3 separate regions of the Homo sapiens genome follow, and regions 1 and 2 are each linked to region 3. The links are contacts of gene promoters, found by promoter capture Hi-C in blood cells and fetal thymus (Javierre and others, 2016). All regions are on one chromosome and are shown on one strand. Each heading gives the region's core, a stretch centred on a gene start or on the middle of the fragment in contact. The rest is flanking DNA. Distances are from core to core; before and after follow the strand shown.

Evidence for each region. Contacts are between HindIII fragments. The CHiCAGO score rates a contact against its expected background, and 5 or more counts as called.
Region 1: a contact is called between a fragment that was not itself captured here and the fragment with the promoter of IGF1R in region 3, in 1 of 17 cell types (endothelial precursors). The highest score is 6.8, in endothelial precursors.
Region 2: a fragment that was not itself captured here is called in contact with the fragment with the promoter of IGF1R in region 3 in 1 of 17 cell types (total CD8 T cells); the score reaches 5.1 in total CD8 T cells.

The regions. Positions count from the first base shown.
Region 1 is chr15:99,207,957-99,210,656 of GRCh38, forward strand. All of the region lies in intron 8 of TTC23 (tetratricopeptide repeat domain 23), which reads right to left. Among named protein-coding and RNA genes, the nearest start is that of TTC23, 40 kb to the right of the region's middle. The HindIII fragment of the contact is 1,838 bases long and covers 472-2,309 here.
Region 2 is chr15:99,254,592-99,257,291 of GRCh38, forward strand. It overlaps LRRC28 (leucine rich repeat containing 28), which reads left to right. Exons shown (of 10, transcript NM_144598.5): 2 at 1,307-1,534. The coding sequence starts at 1,367. Among named protein-coding and RNA genes, the nearest start is that of LRRC28, 4.5 kb to the left of the region's middle. The HindIII fragment of the contact is 878 bases long and covers 977-1,854 here.
Region 3 is chr15:98,647,172-98,649,871 of GRCh38, forward strand. IGF1R (insulin like growth factor 1 receptor) reads left to right here and starts at 1,368. Exons shown (of 21, transcript NM_000875.5): 1 at 1,368-2,504. The coding sequence starts at 2,411. It overlaps IRAIN (IGF1R antisense imprinted non-protein coding RNA), which reads right to left. Exons shown (of 1, transcript NR_126453.2): 1 at 1-2,700. RefSeq lists an enhancer at 1-91 and silencers at 103-152, 163-632, 693-752, 1,123-1,392. The HindIII fragment of the contact is 3,709 bases long and covers 869-2,700 here.

The DNA.
Region 1 (2,700 bases), core at 141-2,640, 560 kb after region 3:
ATATACCTCAGAGATAATCCTGCATATGTGCCCAAAGAGACTTATATAAGCATGATCATGAAAGTAGTGTTTACAGTAGTAAAAAATTGGAAACAATTCACATGTTCACCCTCATCAAAATAGACAATTAAATTAGAGGAAAGTCAGACAATTACACACCATATGGAGGTCTAAAATGAAAAGACTAGAGCTGGATTATATCAATTGGTAGAGATATATCTCAAAAATACAGATGGGAAAAAAGGAAGTTACAGAAGGAAACATACATATAAAGTTTTAAAATATGACAAATTTTATATATATATACACACATATATATATGCTATACATATACACAGTAAAGGTACAAAAACATTCAGAGGAATGAAAAACACTAAATTTCAGCATAATAATTGCCTATAATGTATGGGAATAAAATGGTATTGGGAAGAATGCATAACAAGCTTCTATTTATCAGAAATAGATTTTGTAAGCTTAGTAGTGTGTATACTATTCTTTACACTACAGAATTTACATAATACTACATATATATGTGTCTAAAATATTTTATTAAAAAGATGAATACAACACGCAATTGCACAAAGAATGAAGCACATCCTACCCCTCACCTCCTCAGGTTGCTGTTGCAGGCTATTTCATGGTCCTGGCACTAACACAGCCAGAAATGGAGGCTATCAAGCTAATGCAACCCACAATGAGCCTTCTGAAGCTCATTGTGAGTACACTATTCACATAAAAGAAAAGGCAAAATAGAAAATAAAATTACTTTAGTTTTATATTTAATAAAAAAGGAATTGAGAGTACTACATCAAGAAATAACTAAATTATAGTCTTACATCCATCTACAACTTACTTAAAGCATCAGTCAATTTCGGGTAATCTTGTGTGTTTCCATTTTCTTATGTGTAATGTTTGAGAGCAATATTTTCTCCTTTCCATTTCTGGCTACCTGCCAGGGATGATTTGAGGATTTATTATCTAGTGTATCCACAATGTACTTGGTAGCTTAAGAAATACACTAGACAGATGAAAAGACAGAAAATTTTGAATAACAGAATGTGGCAGTATGTTAATTTGGCAGGTGCACAACTTAAGCCATGGCATATTTTATTGAATGAAAGTTTATACGCAGTAATTCTACAGAGCACAAGAGGAGACACTATCTCATTGCAGACAAGTTTCAGATCTCATAGGGATGGAGACTCGTTTTAACAAGCAATAAACAAATGCAATTTCTGGTATTACTAAGGCAACAGAGTTTCCTTTTAAAAACTCTGGAATTTGGCAAGAATATTGAGCACCAGTATAAAGGAAAGGCTTTGTGTGAATATCACTGATCAGAATCTGATGAGAAACCAATCCCAAAAGATAACAAATGGGATTTTCCATAGCCAACATGAGAAAAGAATTACATCTGGGTATCTTTTTATCACCTGATACATACAGGTAAAGGCTTTGCTCTGTTGAATGCATTGTGGGGTTTCCAGTCTACATCAGTGAATGTAATGTGTGCCATGGTCAGGAGCTTGGACACTAGCGTTGAATAAGCAGGGCTCTGCTGGGCCACTTTCCAGCTTTATCGCTTCCTGCCTGTGTGACCCTGGAAGTGACCTCACTTCTCTCAGCTTTAGATGCTACATTTGAACATGGGAATACTAACAGTATCCACTACACAGAGAGGACTAAGAATGAAAGGAGATGACATCTGTAAAGCACTTAGCAAAAGCCTGACACAGAAGGTGGTCAATAATTGGTAGCTAGTGTGGTTTTAAAAAAATCATTATTATTATATTTTTGAGAAGGGGTCTCACTCTGTCACCCAGGTTGGAGTCCAGTGGCATGATCTTTGCTCACTGCAACCTCTGCCTCCCGGTCTCAAGCAGTCCTCCTACCTCAGCCTCTGGAATAGCTGGGACTACAGGTGTATGCTACAACGCCTGGCTAATTTTTTGTATTTGTAATTATGTATTAGTTGTATTAATTTGAGACAGGGTTTTGCCATGTTGCCCAAGCTGTCTCGAACTCCTGGGCTCAAATGGTCCGCCTGCTTCGGCCTCCCAAAGTTCTGGGATTACAGGTGTAAGTCACTGTGCCCTGCCTATTATTTGATATATATTATTATATGTTGTGTTATTTATTTAGAGATATATGATTATATATTTATGTTACATATTAATACTAATAACATGTCATTTTAAAACATGATTCTATTATTTAAATCATTATTCTCATATATTTAGGAAAAGGTACATTATAAGGGTATAATGTCAGAAAAGGAAAGACAGAAATGCAGTGCTCTAAAACATTAAAGCTTTAGGAGATTCAAGAAATAGAAAGCAGATAAAGTATATGAGAGTAACCTGTGCCATGTGGTTTTTCTTTGGCTTCCCCACATTGAAAATAATAATAATAAAAACAAAAATGAGACTTGTGTAAGTTAAGAGCATATCTTCAACCACAGAAATATAGGATTAGGAAGAGTCCCAGAGAAAAAAAGCAATTTCCTTCTTTGTTAAGTAAGCAAAAAGTATTCTAGGCACATAGTGTCCCACAGGAGCAGCTGACAGGAGAAACATGTCTGCTGGAGAAGAGCAGGATGTTCTCAGGGAGCAGGCAAGGGAGAAGCAGGACTTGGAACATGTGAGCATCTGTAAGAGCCTTTATGTCCAAAAGAGAGAAGCAGAGAAAATGCAACTTAGA
Region 2 (2,700 bases), core at 166-2,665, 610 kb after region 3:
TCCTGTGGAATCTTGTGAGTCAGTGTCTGTGAAGAACCCAAGCTTTGAAATCCACTGGACCTGGTATCAAACCCTTGCTTTTATCCCTTGTGAACGGTCTAACCTTGGACAAATTACTGAAGCCTTGAGTTTGTTTCTTTTTGTGTTAACTGATGGTGAAGTTTGTTTTAGCTCTGTGCCTAGTGGATAAAACGGCAAATGTTACTTGTCTTCTTGCCCTTGTCAATTTTGGAGCTAGAAGAGAATTTATAATAATCTGCCCTGGACTCAGGCCTTTAAACCAGTACATTAATTGCTATCTCCATTCTGCATATTAGGCAACTGGAGACCCAGAGACATTGTAATATTATAGAATAATACAGGATTCTTGTTTCTGAGTGCAGTGTTTCTTCTTTCATTGAAATAATTTAAACTAATGAGACTGTGTGGCCCTGGATCTATTTCTTTGATGCCTCTGATAATCCATAAAGCTAAAAACAAAGAGGCGAGGCATCGTGGCTCATGACTGTAATCCCAGCACTTGGGGAGGCTGAGGTGGGAGGATTGCTTGAGCTCAGGAATTTGAGACTAGCCTGGGCAACACAGTGAGACCCCCATCTCTACGAACAAGTAAAACAATTAGCTGAGTGTGGTGGTGCTCTCTATAGTACCAGCTACTTGGGAGGCTGAGGTGGGAGGATCACTTGAGCCCAGGAGTTGAGGCTACAGTGAGCTATGATTGAGTCACTGCGCCCCAGCCTGGGCAACAGAGTGAGACCCTGTCTCTAAAAAAAAATAAGAAGAAAGAAAAGAATAAAGAGATAAAGAAAAAAATCAGAATATAGGACAATATTTATATATTAGGAAGTGAAGAAAATGAAGCTATTAGTGCTCTAGATATAAATAATATATATTTTAATATTTTTGAAGTACCTTAAGCTAAATACAAAATGAGGTAGTTCATAAAAGAAATGGGGTTTGCTGCATTTGATTTTTAAGCTTCTCCTTTGGTTGTATGTTATGAAACTGGTCACTGTTTTTCTTACACAAGGTTTCCTATCTCAAGTGCAAAAACTATTTTTTTCCATTAGGACTATTTCTAATAAGTAATAAATATTGCTTAATCAGAGTATTTTTATTAAATTGTTATTCATTTTAATCTCCTCCTAAATATGTGTGACAGTTTTAGTTTTGAAAGTAAAATGTAGGATTGAATGTATTAATTATTTTTTTCAGTGTCTTCAAGTGGCTCTGTGTGCTAACTGGTTTATATGGCAATTCTTGTAAAAAATCTTACAATGAATAAATTTTCTCGTTCTCTTTATAGAAATGGACCAATTTTGACAAGATATAGTGCTGCAGCGTGCCTGATGGGATATATTCAGTCATGGCGTCCGAACTTTGTAAGACGATCTCTGTGGCAAGGCTAGAAAAGCACAAGAATTTGTTCTTAAATTATAGGAATCTGCACCATTTTCCATTGGAGTTACTGAAAGATGAGGGACTGCAGTACTTGGAGAGACTCTATATGAAAAGGAACTCCCTGACATCCTTGGTACAGTATTATATTACACTACTGAAAAATTATTTATACATGTGGTCCTGATCAAGATACATTTACATACCCTAAGGTATTCAGACCAAGACTTATATCCCCTGTTGTTATATATACAGTTAATATAAATACACACACAGGGGTTTCTCATTGGCTATGAATTTGTTATCCAAGTTCGTGCAGTTATGAGGTTGCCGGAGAAGTTGTGTAGGAAAGCAAAATACTCACTGATGTATGACTTATAAAGTTAGTACCCATTCAGAAACCCATCTTCGTTTAGCATGTGCTTCTGTCCTGACTTGTAATTTGTTTGTGTGTTAAGCTTCTCAGGTGATTCTTGAATATTACAGCATTCACCAGACCAGTTAAAAAGTAAACGAGAAAGACCAAAAATGCTTTTGAGGTACAGGCATTAAAGGGAGAATGATTTGAAAATTAAAGCATTAAGAGATGCACTTGGGAAGCTTAATGTAACTTTTCAGTGTTTTGAAAGCAAAACCTTTATGATTGCCCTGTGAAACTCAAATGATTTTGAATTGGGCTAGCATACAATTTTTTGGAAAAAATTTTGCCACAAAGGCAACATTTAATTTGCTCTTTTTATGTTCTAAGAATAAGCACGTAGTTTTCATTATAATCTGAATTGTATTACATATAAGATAAACTAAAAGTTTTTCAAGAGAATGTCCAAATCAAGCTTTTTATTCCTATTATTTATTGTAAAATTTGGTCTCTGTATTAAATGGATTTACTTTGTATGGCCTTTTCTGGTTATCACTTAACCTTATTTGAATCTTGTACTTGAATTCTAGTGCTTACTCATTTTAGATGATTTATGAAATCTTACTACTTTGTGAATTTACCCATTCTTCATTCCCTTCCCTATACTGGACTTTGCTAAATATCTGGAAATTGTATCTTATTGGCTTCAAGTATATGGCATGTTTTCCTGGAAAAGTTTTATTTAATCTATGTACAATGCCTATAGTGGGTAGAAAGCATTATAAAATTAGTTTATCTTTGCTCTGTCTGGAAGTAAATAGATACGTATGTCTTGTTCTTTTGTGATTGGCATATTGGCATATATGTTGAATGCCTACTTATATTTCTGAAATTAGATTTTTCAGTTTTCCAACTTGGAAAATCTATTTGCAGTTATAGGAATC
Region 3 (2,700 bases), core at 118-2,617:
TCTCGCTTTGGGGAAACCTCTCCTCCTGCACATTCAAGAAAACAACCGCGGAGACTTAGGGTCGGTACTGGTTTCCAGTCACTTACGTAGCAAACGAAGCAAGAGGAACGTGCCTGGGAGGACCCGAGACAGGTGCGGGTGGGTTTCCGCAGTAGCCGCTGATCCCGAGTGCATGCGGCGTGTTCCCGGGTCGGGACCGCGGCCAAGGGAGGCTTCCCGGCCCCAGCCTCCACCCCCTCCTCGGCGCCCCGGGACCCGGACACGCCCCCCGAGCTTCGGAGACCCGCAGCGTGCACGCGCCCCGGCCGCTCCCCGCAGCCGCCCACGTGGTGGAGCCCTGAGCTGCGCGAGGCCGCGGAGAGCGCTCAGGGCGGGCGGCTGGTCCGGGAGGCCACGCCAGCGCGACCCAGCCGAGTCGGCCCCCAGCCCGGGCCCCCACATTTCCTCCCCCGGAGGGAGGGAGGCGACTCTCCGCGGGCTGCCCTCCCCAGCGCCCGCCGCGCCCTCTGGCGGCCGCCGCGGGGACGCGCCCGGGGCACGCGGCGCTGCCTGTCTGGGCCCCCCTTCCGGGGCGCGGGGCCCGCGAGGGGCGGCGGGGTCCTCTCTCCTCGAGCCACTCTGGGCCGAGCCACACGGGCCGCGCCCTTCCCCCTCCGCTCCCCCTGAGCCCCCAAACTCCGGGCTCCACGGTCGCAACGCCGCGGGCACCCCAGCCTGGCGTGAAAGTGCCCGGCGTAGTAGCCTGGGGGGGGGGTCCCCTTTCTCCCAGGTGCGCCCCTTCCGCCACGTTCGGGCTTTCCAGTACGCAGCGAAAAAAATGCCGCATGCACGCATTTATTTATTTTGCAACAGCTGCAAGAAACAATGAAGCTTTTCAAGAACCGGGGAAACGCGCTTTCCAGCCGCGCTGTTGTTGTTTTCAATGAACCTCTCCCAGCCCCGCACTCCCCGCCCACCCCTCCCCTCTCCTGCCCACCCCTCCCCTGCCTAGCCTTTCCCTGGCTACCCACCCCTGCCCCGCCGAGACCGGACCGGCGGCGGGGGCATTGTTTTTGGAGTCGGGCGGGAGGGGAGGGCGCGTGCGGGGTGGCCGGCGCAGTGCGGTGGGGGCGGGAGCGGGTGGGCACGCGCGCGTGTCTCTGTGTGCGCGCGGGAGGCGGTGGGGCGGGAGATGGGGGCGGCGCCTCGCAGTCTCGCGCCCCACGCCCGGGCTCCGCTCCGCACGTCTTGGGGAACCGGGCTCCGGTTTTTTGCGCGCGCCGGCCTGGGCCGGGCCCTCGGCGCGCCGCTGCTGCGGCGGTGGCCGCTCGAGTGTGCGAGCGGGCGCGTGTGCGCGGGCCAGGGCGCGCGCGCGCGCGCGAGCCCCCAGTGTGTGGCAGCGGCGGCGGCGGCGCGGCGAGGCTGGGGCTCTTGTTTACCAGCATTAACTCCGCTGAGCGGAAAAAAAAAGGGAAAAAACCCGAGGAGGAGCGAGCGCACCAGGCGAACTCGAGAGAGGCGGGAGAGCGAGAGGGACGCCGCCAGCGAGCCTGCCCACGGCCGGCGCTCGCAGACCCTCGGCCCCGCTCCCCGGATCCCCCCGCGCCCTCCACGCCCCTCCCGCGCGGGGGCAGCTCCACGGCGCGCCTCGCCTCGGCTGTGACCTTCAGCGAGCCGGAGCCCCCGCGCAGAGCAGGCGGCGGCGGGCGGGGGCCGGGCGGGGGCCGGCGCGGGGCGGGCGGCGGCGCAGAGCCGGGCGGCGCGGCGGGAGTGCTGAGCGCGGCGCGGCCGGCCCGCCGCTTTGTGTGTGTCCTGGATTTGGGAAGGAGCTCGCCGCGGCGGCGGCGGCGCTGAGGGAGGAGGCGGCGGCGAGCGGAGCCAGGAGGAGGAGGAGGAGGGGGAGCCGCTCATTCATTTTGACTCCGCGTTTCTGCCCCTCGCCGGCCTCGCCTGTGACCCGGACTTCGGGGCGATCTTGCGAACTGCGTCGCGCCCTCCCGCGGCGGAAGCTCGGGCGTCCGGCCGCCTCCCGCGCGGCCAGGGCCGGGCTTGTTTTTCCTCGCCTAGGCAGATTTGGGCTTTGCCCCCTTTCTTTGCAGTTTTCCCCCCTTCCTGCCTCTCCGGGTTTGAAAATGGAGGCCGACGACGCCGACAGCCCGCCCCGGCGCGCCTCGGGTTCCCGACTCCGCCGAGCCCTGGGCCGCTGCTGCCGGCGCTGAGGGGCCGCCCCGCGCCGCCCGCCCCGTCCGCGCACCCGGAGGGCCCCGGCGGCGCCGCCTTCGGAGTATTGTTTCCTTCGCCCTTGTTTTTGGAGGGGGAGCGAAGACTGAGTTTGAGACTTGTTTCCTTTCATTTCCTTTTTTTCTTTTCTTTTCTTTTTTTTTTTTTTTTTTTTTTTTGAGAAAGGGGAATTTCATCCCAAATAAAAGGAATGAAGTCTGGCTCCGGAGGAGGGTCCCCGACCTCGCTGTGGGGGCTCCTGTTTCTCTCCGCCGCGCTCTCGCTCTGGCCGACGAGTGGAGAAAGTGAGTATGTGCCCGCCGCCCGCGGCCACTGCGGGAACTTTTCCTCCGAGGGGCTGCGCCCTGTTTGCGAAACCCGAGTTGCCACCGTCGCAGCTGTCGGGCCCCCGGGCTCGGGAGCGGCGGGGTGGGGCGCAGGGCGGCTCTGCCGGGAGGGAGGCTGCAGCGGACCCGGGACCCGGGCTCGTTCGTCTGGAGC